2 separate regions of the Homo sapiens genome follow, and region 1 is linked to region 2. The links are contacts of gene promoters, found by promoter capture Hi-C in human tissues and cell types (Jung and others, 2019). All regions are on one chromosome and are shown on one strand. The core of a region is centred on a gene start or on the middle of the fragment in contact, and the rest is flanking DNA. Distances in the headings are between cores, read along the strand shown. Region 1 holds the start of SLC26A6 (solute carrier family 26 member 6). Region 2 overlaps ARIH2 (ariadne RBR E3 ubiquitin protein ligase 2).

What was found. Contacts are between HindIII fragments. The study calls those that stand out against the background at their distance.
Region 1: the fragment with the promoter of SLC26A6 here is called in contact with a fragment that was not itself captured in region 2 in 1 of the 25 tissues and cell types used here (dorsolateral prefrontal cortex).

What each region holds. Positions count from the first base shown.
Region 1 is chr3:48,632,843-48,637,564 of GRCh38, forward strand. SLC26A6 (solute carrier family 26 member 6) reads right to left here and starts at 2,619. Exons shown (of 21, transcript NM_022911.3): 1 at 2,529-2,619; 2 at 635-793; 3 at 409-548; 4 at 132-242. The coding sequence starts at 2,551. CELSR3 (cadherin EGF LAG seven-pass G-type receptor 3) reads right to left here. Exons shown (of 35, transcript NM_001407.3): 35 at 3,621-4,722. It overlaps MIR6824 (microRNA 6824), which reads right to left and starts at 856; the gene lies at 794-856. RefSeq lists silencers at 2,058-2,157, 2,548-2,827. The HindIII fragment of the contact is 9,287 bases long and covers 1,657-4,722 here.
Region 2 is chr3:48,952,509-48,956,706 of GRCh38, forward strand. All of the region lies in intron 3 of ARIH2 (ariadne RBR E3 ubiquitin protein ligase 2), which reads left to right. Among named protein-coding and RNA genes, the nearest start is that of ARIH2OS, 35 kb to the left of the region's middle. The HindIII fragment of the contact is 8,935 bases long and covers 1-4,198 here.

The DNA.
Region 1 (4,722 bases), core at 1,369-3,868, 320 kb before region 2:
GCTAGCCCAGGGATGCAGCACCAATGCTGCCCTCTTCCCCAGCCGCTCCTGCCCTGCTCAGTGCCCCCTCACCCTGCCCTCCATGATGGATGTGGGCATCCTCCTGGAAGGCTAGGCCTGCCTCCACTTACCCACGGAGATGTGCCGGGAAGTGCCAAACAGGAAGTAGATGAAGACAGGGTAGAAGGAGCTATAGAGGCCAAACACGGGGGGCAATCCAGCCAGGAGGGCGTAGGCCAAGCCTAGGGGTAGAATGGTAGCAGTGCAGGCCTGGAGAGCAGATCTTGAAACGATAAGGGAATCCCAGCCCTGGGTTAGGTGCCATAGTTCCAAGGTAGAGGTCATGGCCCCAGTTTTGGGCATCACAGACCACAGGGTTTCCAGGCCGACGCACTGAAGGTGGCTCACCCTGCGGAAGCTGCATGATGGCCACACTCAGGCCGGATAACAGGTCACCCAGGAGCCAGTCACGCACAGGATACCGGGGTAACCAGACCAAAACCGGGAGGTGTTGGAGCAGAAGGGCATAGGCCCGAGCACGGGAGCACCTAGGGACATGATATGAGGGGTAGGTGTCAGGAACAGGGGCTACCTGGGCCCCGCCAGCGCCCCCAGGCCCCAATCTTGGCCTTACTGCAACCAGGTCCGCCACTGGTGGGTCCTAGGTGCTGAGCCCCAGCGCCCCAGCTCCTCCAAATGCTCCTGGTTCAGCAGCGGCCGTTCCATGTGGTAGTCTCGCCTCCGCAGGTCCATTGCTTGTGTTGCAGACAGCAGTGCCTGTGTGTCCCTCGGTCTGGGGTGGCAAGACCAGAGAGACACAGTGAAGGCATCCCTGGCCCAACCTCCCCTACACCTCCACCTAGGACCAGAGAGTTACCTACCTGATTTTTCCAGGCCCTAAGATCAAGGTACAGTATTCCAGCCCCCAGCTGGCATCTGTGGGCCACATGTCCAAACTCAGACAGGGGCAGTACCTGAACTTTGGCTGGTGAGAAAGCCTCTTTCTAGGACAAAGTCCCCCAAGTAGGGACTGCAGGATGAGCACTAGCTATACCTCCAGCCGAGATGTGGCAGCCCAGTGCTGAGTGTTCTACCAGTCCAGGTCCCAGGCTGCTCCCTCCCCCACCCAGTCCCTCTCCAGTCCCCAGGTCCTCCTCCAGCTGCCCCGGGAGCCCACTGCTGGCTGAGAGCACACTCAGGGAAGGGGTCCAGCAAACCAGGGGTCCAGCTCCTCAAGCAACTCCTTTCCCAAGCCTCAGGCCTCAGATGAGACCCTCCCCTCTAAGGGAAGGAAAGTGTTGGAGCCAAGCTTGCCCCTGGGCCTCCAGCCCCAGGGTCCAGGTTGTAGACGGCTCAGGCCTGTTATGGGGAAGCCAAGGACTGGCTCTCACCTGAGAAGGAGCTTGCTCTTGGAGTGGCAATCTCTCACCTAGAGGGAGAGGCTCCCACATGGAAAGGGAAGTACCCACTTGAAGTGGGGGAAAGAGCTCACCTGGGAATAGAAGCTTTCAAGGGGAATCTCACCTAGAGGGATCTCTGACCTACCAGGGAATCTTTATCAGCCTGGCAAGTTCTGATACAGGGGGAATCTTCCCTCTGCCCAGAGGCACCTACTTGAAGTCAGAGAAAGATCTCACATGGGAAGAAAAGACCTAGAGGGAGAGGGTTCTCACCTGGGGGGTACTCTCCCATAGAGAAAGCTCTGACCTCGGGCGAGGCTCCCACGTGGAATGGGGAAAAGCTGTCACCTGGGAATAGATCTCACAGAAGGATCTTACCTGGGGGAAAACTCTAGCCTGTTGGGGAAGCTTTCACCAGTCAGGAAAGTTCTGATCTAGGAAAAGCCCTGACCTGGGGAGAGGATCCCATTTGAGGGACAGGAACTCACCTGGGAAGCGCCTCTAACCTGGCTGTACTGTTGGAGGAGTGTGGAGTGGGTGCAAGGAAGATCCTCAGAGACTCTTGGGACCGCTATCTCAAGGAGATCGTAGAGCCCCCTCTCCTTTCCTACGTGAGTCACTCAGGTCTTCTTAAAGGGCTCCCTCCCCCGACAACTTGGGACCCGCGTTTGGAGGGCGGAGCCTTGATCATTGGCCCCTCCCTGTAGGAAGGCAACTGGGGCCAGAAAGGCCGGAGCGCTCACTCCGGGATCAGTGGAGCTGGGTGGACTCGGGACTCAGCTGAAAGCAGCTAGTCCACGGGCCGCTGCCAGGGACTCCCGTGCCCCACGCACCCCCGCCGGCACATCTCCTGGCCGGGCTCCTCCGCACGCAGCTGCCTCCCTGTGGCCCGGGATGGCCCTCGGGCGTCACACCAGCGGCTTTCCGCACAGCCCAAGGGACTGGGGTCGCGCCGGCTCCCGCCCCCACCCCTTGCTGCAGAGGGGCAGCCGCCTGCAGAAAATCAGCAGAGGTAAACCGAGGCGTCGCAAGCGGAGAATGCCTGCTCCAGCGAGGCGTCGCAAGCGGAGAATGCCTGCTCCAGCGAGGCGCTCGCGCGGGGCCACCGGGAATGTGCGCTGAACTCACCCCGACGCATCCGCCAGCCCCATGGCTCGCAAGTTGTCCGGTGCGGGCTGCTCCTGCTGCTCGAGCTAGAGGCCGCTACGCTCCGGAAGGCGGCGCCGGGACCGGGTGAGGCCAGCTGCGCTCTCCCGGGGGCTAATCCCGGGGCAGGACGGGGAGGCTTGGGCCAATCAGCGCGCTGGGGCGGGGCCTAAGTGGCGCGCGCCGGGCGGGGAGAGACTGGAGAAGGAGGATTTAACCGCTTCCTCCCCGGCGACCTGGCCTATGAGGCCTCTCGCTGCTCGCCCGGCCCTCTGCCCGGAGCTGGATGGGACTGCAGAACTGGAACTAAGCACCCGCGCCGGGCTGGCCGCAGTCGCGCCCCCAGGCCCTGAGTAGGTTGGAGCTGATCCCAGGTCCTGGCTCGGCGGAAGGTGCTCACGGAGTGGGAAAAGGAAACTCCACTGGCCGGTGACCCCAGCCTTAACTCGTAGGGGATCCAGGTCTGTGGGGCCTCTCTTGCCTTCAGCTGAGAGCGCCACCCGCAGGCTTTCTGCGACTACGCATCTCTTTGAGACCCGGAGCCAACGGTCCCCAAGTCCTCCCCTTTAACTCTGGCCACCCAGGCCAGAAATGGTTGGAGGATCCCCTCCGCTGCACTAAGCACAGCCCGGACGTAGCTCCCAGAAGGTTACTGCGCGGGCCGCCGAGGAGAATGGTGGGGGTCAGTGCTGTTGGGTGGGCGTCAGTGCTGTTGGGTGGGCAAGGCAGGAACTGCAAGAGCAGTTCCTCAGGTTGGTTTCACCGCAGGTGAGGGCAAAAAATGCCGGGTCAGGGCTGCAGACCCTGAAGAATTAGGAAGTCCTGTTGCCGTTGCCTTGACCAGCGGGGAGGTTTTCCTTAGCACCTTATTTTCAGCACCTGTGCTCCAACATCAGGCCCCAATTACAAAGTGAGGGGCCAGATTTCAAGGTGAAAGAGATCTGCCATGAAATGGGCTAAAAATAGCTGGATATTCTTGGGAGGGGCTCAGATTCCTCCCAAAGGTCAGTCTGGCTTGAATCATTCACAGCTTCCATCCTACCTCCCCAGCCCCCAACAGGAAAAGGCAACAACTGTTTTCTATAGAAGTTTATTCCCAAAACAGAGCGCGGCTTCACGGAACAATTTACACAGACAGGAAAGAGGGCCGCTGGGCTGGAGGAGGGGAACCCCAGAGAGGGGCATCTACGAAACCTAGGACATAGTAAAGACACCCTCCCACCCCCAGCAGGCCACTCAGCCCTTCAAGAGCTGGGGTCCTTCTCGGTAAGGAGAGTTTGGGTCCTGGCTGGTGGGATTTAGCTCCAGTCAGGGAAGTAGAATTTCTAATCTCCCAGGAAGCTGCTTCCCAAGAGTATGCATGGGGTGGTGGGTGAGGAGGTGTCTGCACAGACCACCCCCCAGCCCTGCACAGCCACTCTCCCCCGTGGTTAGAGGACGCCTACTCTCAAGGTCTTCTGGATCTGCTGTTAAACGGGACTCAAGGCTGACCTTCGGCCTGGGAGACCTGGGGGTTAGAAAACCCCTCAAGATGGCCAGGTCAGGGTCCTCACAGGTGGGTCCTCCAAGTCCCTCTCCCACTTTCCCTACCTTTCACTTGGAAACAAAGGAAAAAAAATTATCTACTGTAAACAAAGTGTAAAACTCAAAGTTTTGAGTTGTAAACAAAGTAAAAACATTTTTTGAATCTGGACTTGTAAACAGTAACAAAATTTTAAAGTCTTCAGTTCTGGACAGCAGACAAAATAGCAAAAGTAAGAGTTTTGTGAACAGGGTCGTAACAGTCATTTTTCCCTTTTTAAGGGAATAAAGGAGGAGTGGAACGGAGTCACTTCCTGCAGCCCAGGTGCCTAGGGCCACGGAGGATCCTGTAAACATAGGAGGCAGTGGCACCTACATTCTGGGTCTTGAATTCCCTTGTTTCTGCTCCCTTTGCTCACCTTCCCACCCTACCCTTCGGAATCAATTCAAGCAGGGGGCAGTGTCAGGGAATCAAATGGCACCACAGACAACTTTTGCTTGCTGCAGGGGCAGGTGAATGACCCCTCCACCGACCCTCTGCAGGAATGTCTGACTAGAGGCCCGAGCCCCTCCCCGTGGGAGACAGGGAAGCCTTGCTCTGTAAACACGACATCAGCTGCTCCACCAGCACCCCACAGCATCAGTCCTAGGTCAT
Region 2 (4,198 bases), core at 852-3,351:
GAGTGGAAGGGATATACATTAAGATGCCTTTCCATGTGAGTGAGGCCCTTCTGATGGGAGTGCTGAGGAGAGGAAGAACTAGAGATTGGACACTGGAGTGGTGATGATGGGAGAGGGTAAAGTGGTTAAGGAAGAGTGAGACGTGGAGGAAAAGGCCAACAGTCCTACCTTGAGAGGAGTGGGAATGTGGTGCCCCCCACTGGCAAGATGGGGATACAAGAGGAAGAGCACAGAGTACCTGAACAGGTGCTGCAAAAGACATCATAGAGATCAAGAGGGGGTCATTAAGGCAGAAGGAAGTTAAGTGTCTGATTTCTGTCAGCAAGATAAGGTATGAGAAATGTTTGAATTTGGCAACAAGGGAGTTTATATTGCCTGGTATATGTGCATAAAGAAAGAATATCTTAGTATTTCTACTGTCAGCAATTTTTTTTTTTTTAAACGCAGTCTCGTTCTTGTCACCCAAGCTAGAGTGCAGTGGCGCGATCTTGGCTCACTGCAACCTCTGCTTCTCGAGTTCAACCGATTCTCATACTTCAGCTTCCCAAGTAGCTGGGATTACAGGTGCCCACCACTATGCCCGGCTAATTTTTATATTTTTAGTAGAGACAGGGTTTCACTATGTTGGCCAGGCTGATCTCAAACTCCCGACCTCAGGTGACCTGCCCGCCTCGGCCTCCCAAAGTGCTGGCATTACAGGTGTAAGCCACCGCGCCTGGCCAGCAATTCTGAGTAGATTGAAATTCATCAATTGAAATCAACATCTTATCAAATTATGAGCCAAACTGAATTAAAATCAGGAATAATCTGTGAATTTTTAATTTATGATTTTGGCAGTTAGACCCCATAAGCTTTGAAAAGTATTATAGTTATTAAACATGATTATTCATTTTCTTTTTTTTATTTTTTATTTTAGACGGAGTCTCGCTCTGTCTCCCAGGCTGGAGGGCAGTGGTGCGACCTCGGCTCACTGCAAGCTCCGCCTCCCGGGTTCACGCCATTCTCCTGCCTCAGCCTCCTGAGTAGCTGGAACTACAGGTGCCTCACAACGCCCGGCTAATTATTTGTATTTTTAGTAGAGACGGGGTTTCACCGTGTCAGCCAGGATGGTCTCGATCTCCTGATCTCATGATCCGCCCACCTGGCCTCCCAAAGTGCTGGGATTACAGGTGTGAGCCACCACGCCCAGCCATTATTCATTTTCTTGAAACAGTGTCTTGCTGAGTCACCCCGGCTGGAGCGTAGTGGCGTGATCATGGCTCACTGCAGCCTCTACCTCCTGGGCTCAAGCGATCCTCCTACCTTAGCCTCCTGAGTAGCTGGGACTACAGGCACATGCCACCATGCCCAGCTAATTAAAAAAAAAATGTTTTGGCTGGGCGTGGTGGCTCACACCTGTAATCCCAGCACTTTGGGAGGCCGAAGCGGGTGGATCACCTGAGGTCTGGAGTTTGAGACCAGCCTGGCCAACATGGTGAAACACTCTCTACTAAAATACAAAAATTAGCCGGGAGTGGTGGCAGGTGCCTGTAATCACCGCTACTTGGGAGGCCGAGACAGGAGAATCGCTTGAACCTGGGAGGCGGAGGTTGCAGTGAACCAAGATCGCGCCATTGCATTCCAGCGTGGGGACAGGAGCGAGACTTTGTCGCAAAAAAAAGAAAAGGCCGGGCTTGGTGGCTCACGCCTGTAATCCGAGCACTTTGGGAGGCCGAGGCAGGCGGATCACAAGGTCAGGAGATCGAGACCATCCTGGCTAACACTGTGAAACCCCCGTCTCTACTAAGGCATCGTGGTGGGCACCTGTAGTCCCAGCTACTCAGGAGGCTGAGGCAGGAGAATGGCGTGAACCCGGGAGGCAGAGCTTGCAGTGAGCCAGGATCGCACTACTGCACTCCAGTCGGAGCAACAGAGTGAGACTCTGTCTCAAAAAAAAAAAAAAGTTTTTTTCTACGTATAGGATCTCACTATTTGCCCAGGCTGGTCTCAAACTTCTGAATTCAAGTAATCCTGCCACCTTGGCATCCCAAAGTGCTGAGATTACAGGCTTGAGCCACCACACCCAGCCTGTAAGTATTCTTTACTCATGGTTTTGTGAATGTACAAAATGACTGTCAAAGAGATTCCACCATCTTAGGGTTTGCTCTTTAAACAGGGATGAGATTTCCTCTGGGGAATAGTGGAAATGAATTGGAGAATGGGTTTGCTGGAAACAGTAACCTAATGAATGGTACCCTTTTTGGCCCTTGATATGGAGGGAACAATAGATACCTTTTTTATCTCTGATTAGAGACTCAGATTACTCAGTAATTATCTTGAGACTCCTTTTGGACAAGAAACTTTCTAGTTTTTAATTTCTAGTTTTTTCCTCAGTTAATGTTTCTAGAAATAGAAAAAGCATTCATAGTGCCGGGTGTGGTGGCTCATGCCCATAATCCCCACACTTTGGGAGGCCGAGGCAGGATGATCACTTGAGGTCAGGAGTTCGAGACCAGCCTGGCCAACATGGTGAAATCCCATCTCTAGTAAAAATACCAAAAATAGCTGGGCGTGGTGTTGAGTGCCTGTAATCCCAGCTACTTGGGAGGCTGAGGCAGGAGAATCACTTGAACCCGAGAAGCAGAGGTTGCAGTGAGCCAGCGTCGCGCCACTGTACTCTAGCCTGGGCGACAGAATGACACTCCATCTCAACAGAAACGAAAAAGAAAAAGCATTCATAAATAAATAGGACTTTTAATCCTCTGGTTACATGTTGATCTAATAGAACTGCAAGTTTCTTCTGAACACCACATTGGTCACATGTGTTCCTTCTAAGTCATTAGTCTTTTTTTTTTTTTGGCTTACATTGGTTGTTTACTACCCTGGATCCATTTTTCTTTTGGAAAAGATTTGGCCTTTTCTTTATAAGTTGTCTTGATAATACTTAATCCTAACTACCAACAGGTTGTTAGCTCCTTCATTACAACAGCCCAGCAAGAGCTCTTCTTGATTCTACTGAAAGGTTTTCTCTTCACAATTGAACAAATTATAAAGGGTAACAAGGGGACAGGGGGTGAAGGACTCAGTTATGAAAGTGTTGACTGTGATAGATTCTAAATGGATTGTTGAGCTCTTTCAAGCATTAAAGACTAATGGTGTGAATACTAGTTCGTTCCTTAGAAAGCTCAGCTGTTTGTACTCAGACAGATTTTTACCTTTAATCTGGCTTAATATTGTTTAGAAGATTTGTTTTGGCCCTCCTGCCAGGAGGCCAAGATGGCTCAAGGTGGCCACTGCTTCCTCTGGAAAACTGCTGGGGAGTTGAGATGGGGGTTCAGTCAGTTCTCTCTTGTGACCCAAATCAGGGAGAAGGTAGCCTCCTTGCTGAGACTACCTTTTAGAATATATTATTCTAGAGTATCATTTTCTCACTGTTTTTCTCCATCTCTGTGCTGCTTTTGCTCAGAGGACTCTGGGGAATCTGGCTTTCCTGTAGATCCTTCCTGGTGTCCATTACTGGATGAGGTGCAGTGACACTACATTTTCCCTTAATTAGTGGTCTCAGAATCTCATCAGGTTTGTAGTAGATTTTTGAGAGAGAGAGTCTCCAATCTTCTGTGTACTATCAACCTAATATGTGTAATTATCTCCTTTACTTTTTTTTTTTTTGAGACGGAGTCTCACTCTGTCACCGAGGCTGGAGTGCAGTGGTACCATGTCGGCTCACTGCAACCTCCATCTCCTGGGTTCAAGCAATTCTACTGCCTCAGCCTCCCGAATACCTGGGATTACAGGCGCCCGCCACAACACCCAGCTAATTTTTATATTTTTAGTAGAGACGGGGTTTCACCGTGTTGGCCAGGCTGGTCTCGAACTCCTGACCTCAGGTGATCCGCCTGCCTCTGCCTCCCAAAGTGCTGGGGTTACAGACGTGAGCCACTGCGCCCGGCACTTTTTTTTTTTTTTTTTTTTTTTTTTTTTTTTTTAAGAGACAGGGTTTTGCTGTGTTGCCAGGCTGGCTGTGGTGTTGAACTCCTGGGCTAAGCAATTCTCCCGCCTCAGCCTCCTGAGTAGCTGGGACCACAGGCATGAACCACTGTGCCTGGCAGTCACCCCCACCTTGATGTGGGGATCCCAGTAGTGTCTCTTACAGAAGGCTGCTGGGAGATGCATACAGCTGACGTGTGTGTGTGTGTGTGTGTGTGTGTGTATTTATTTT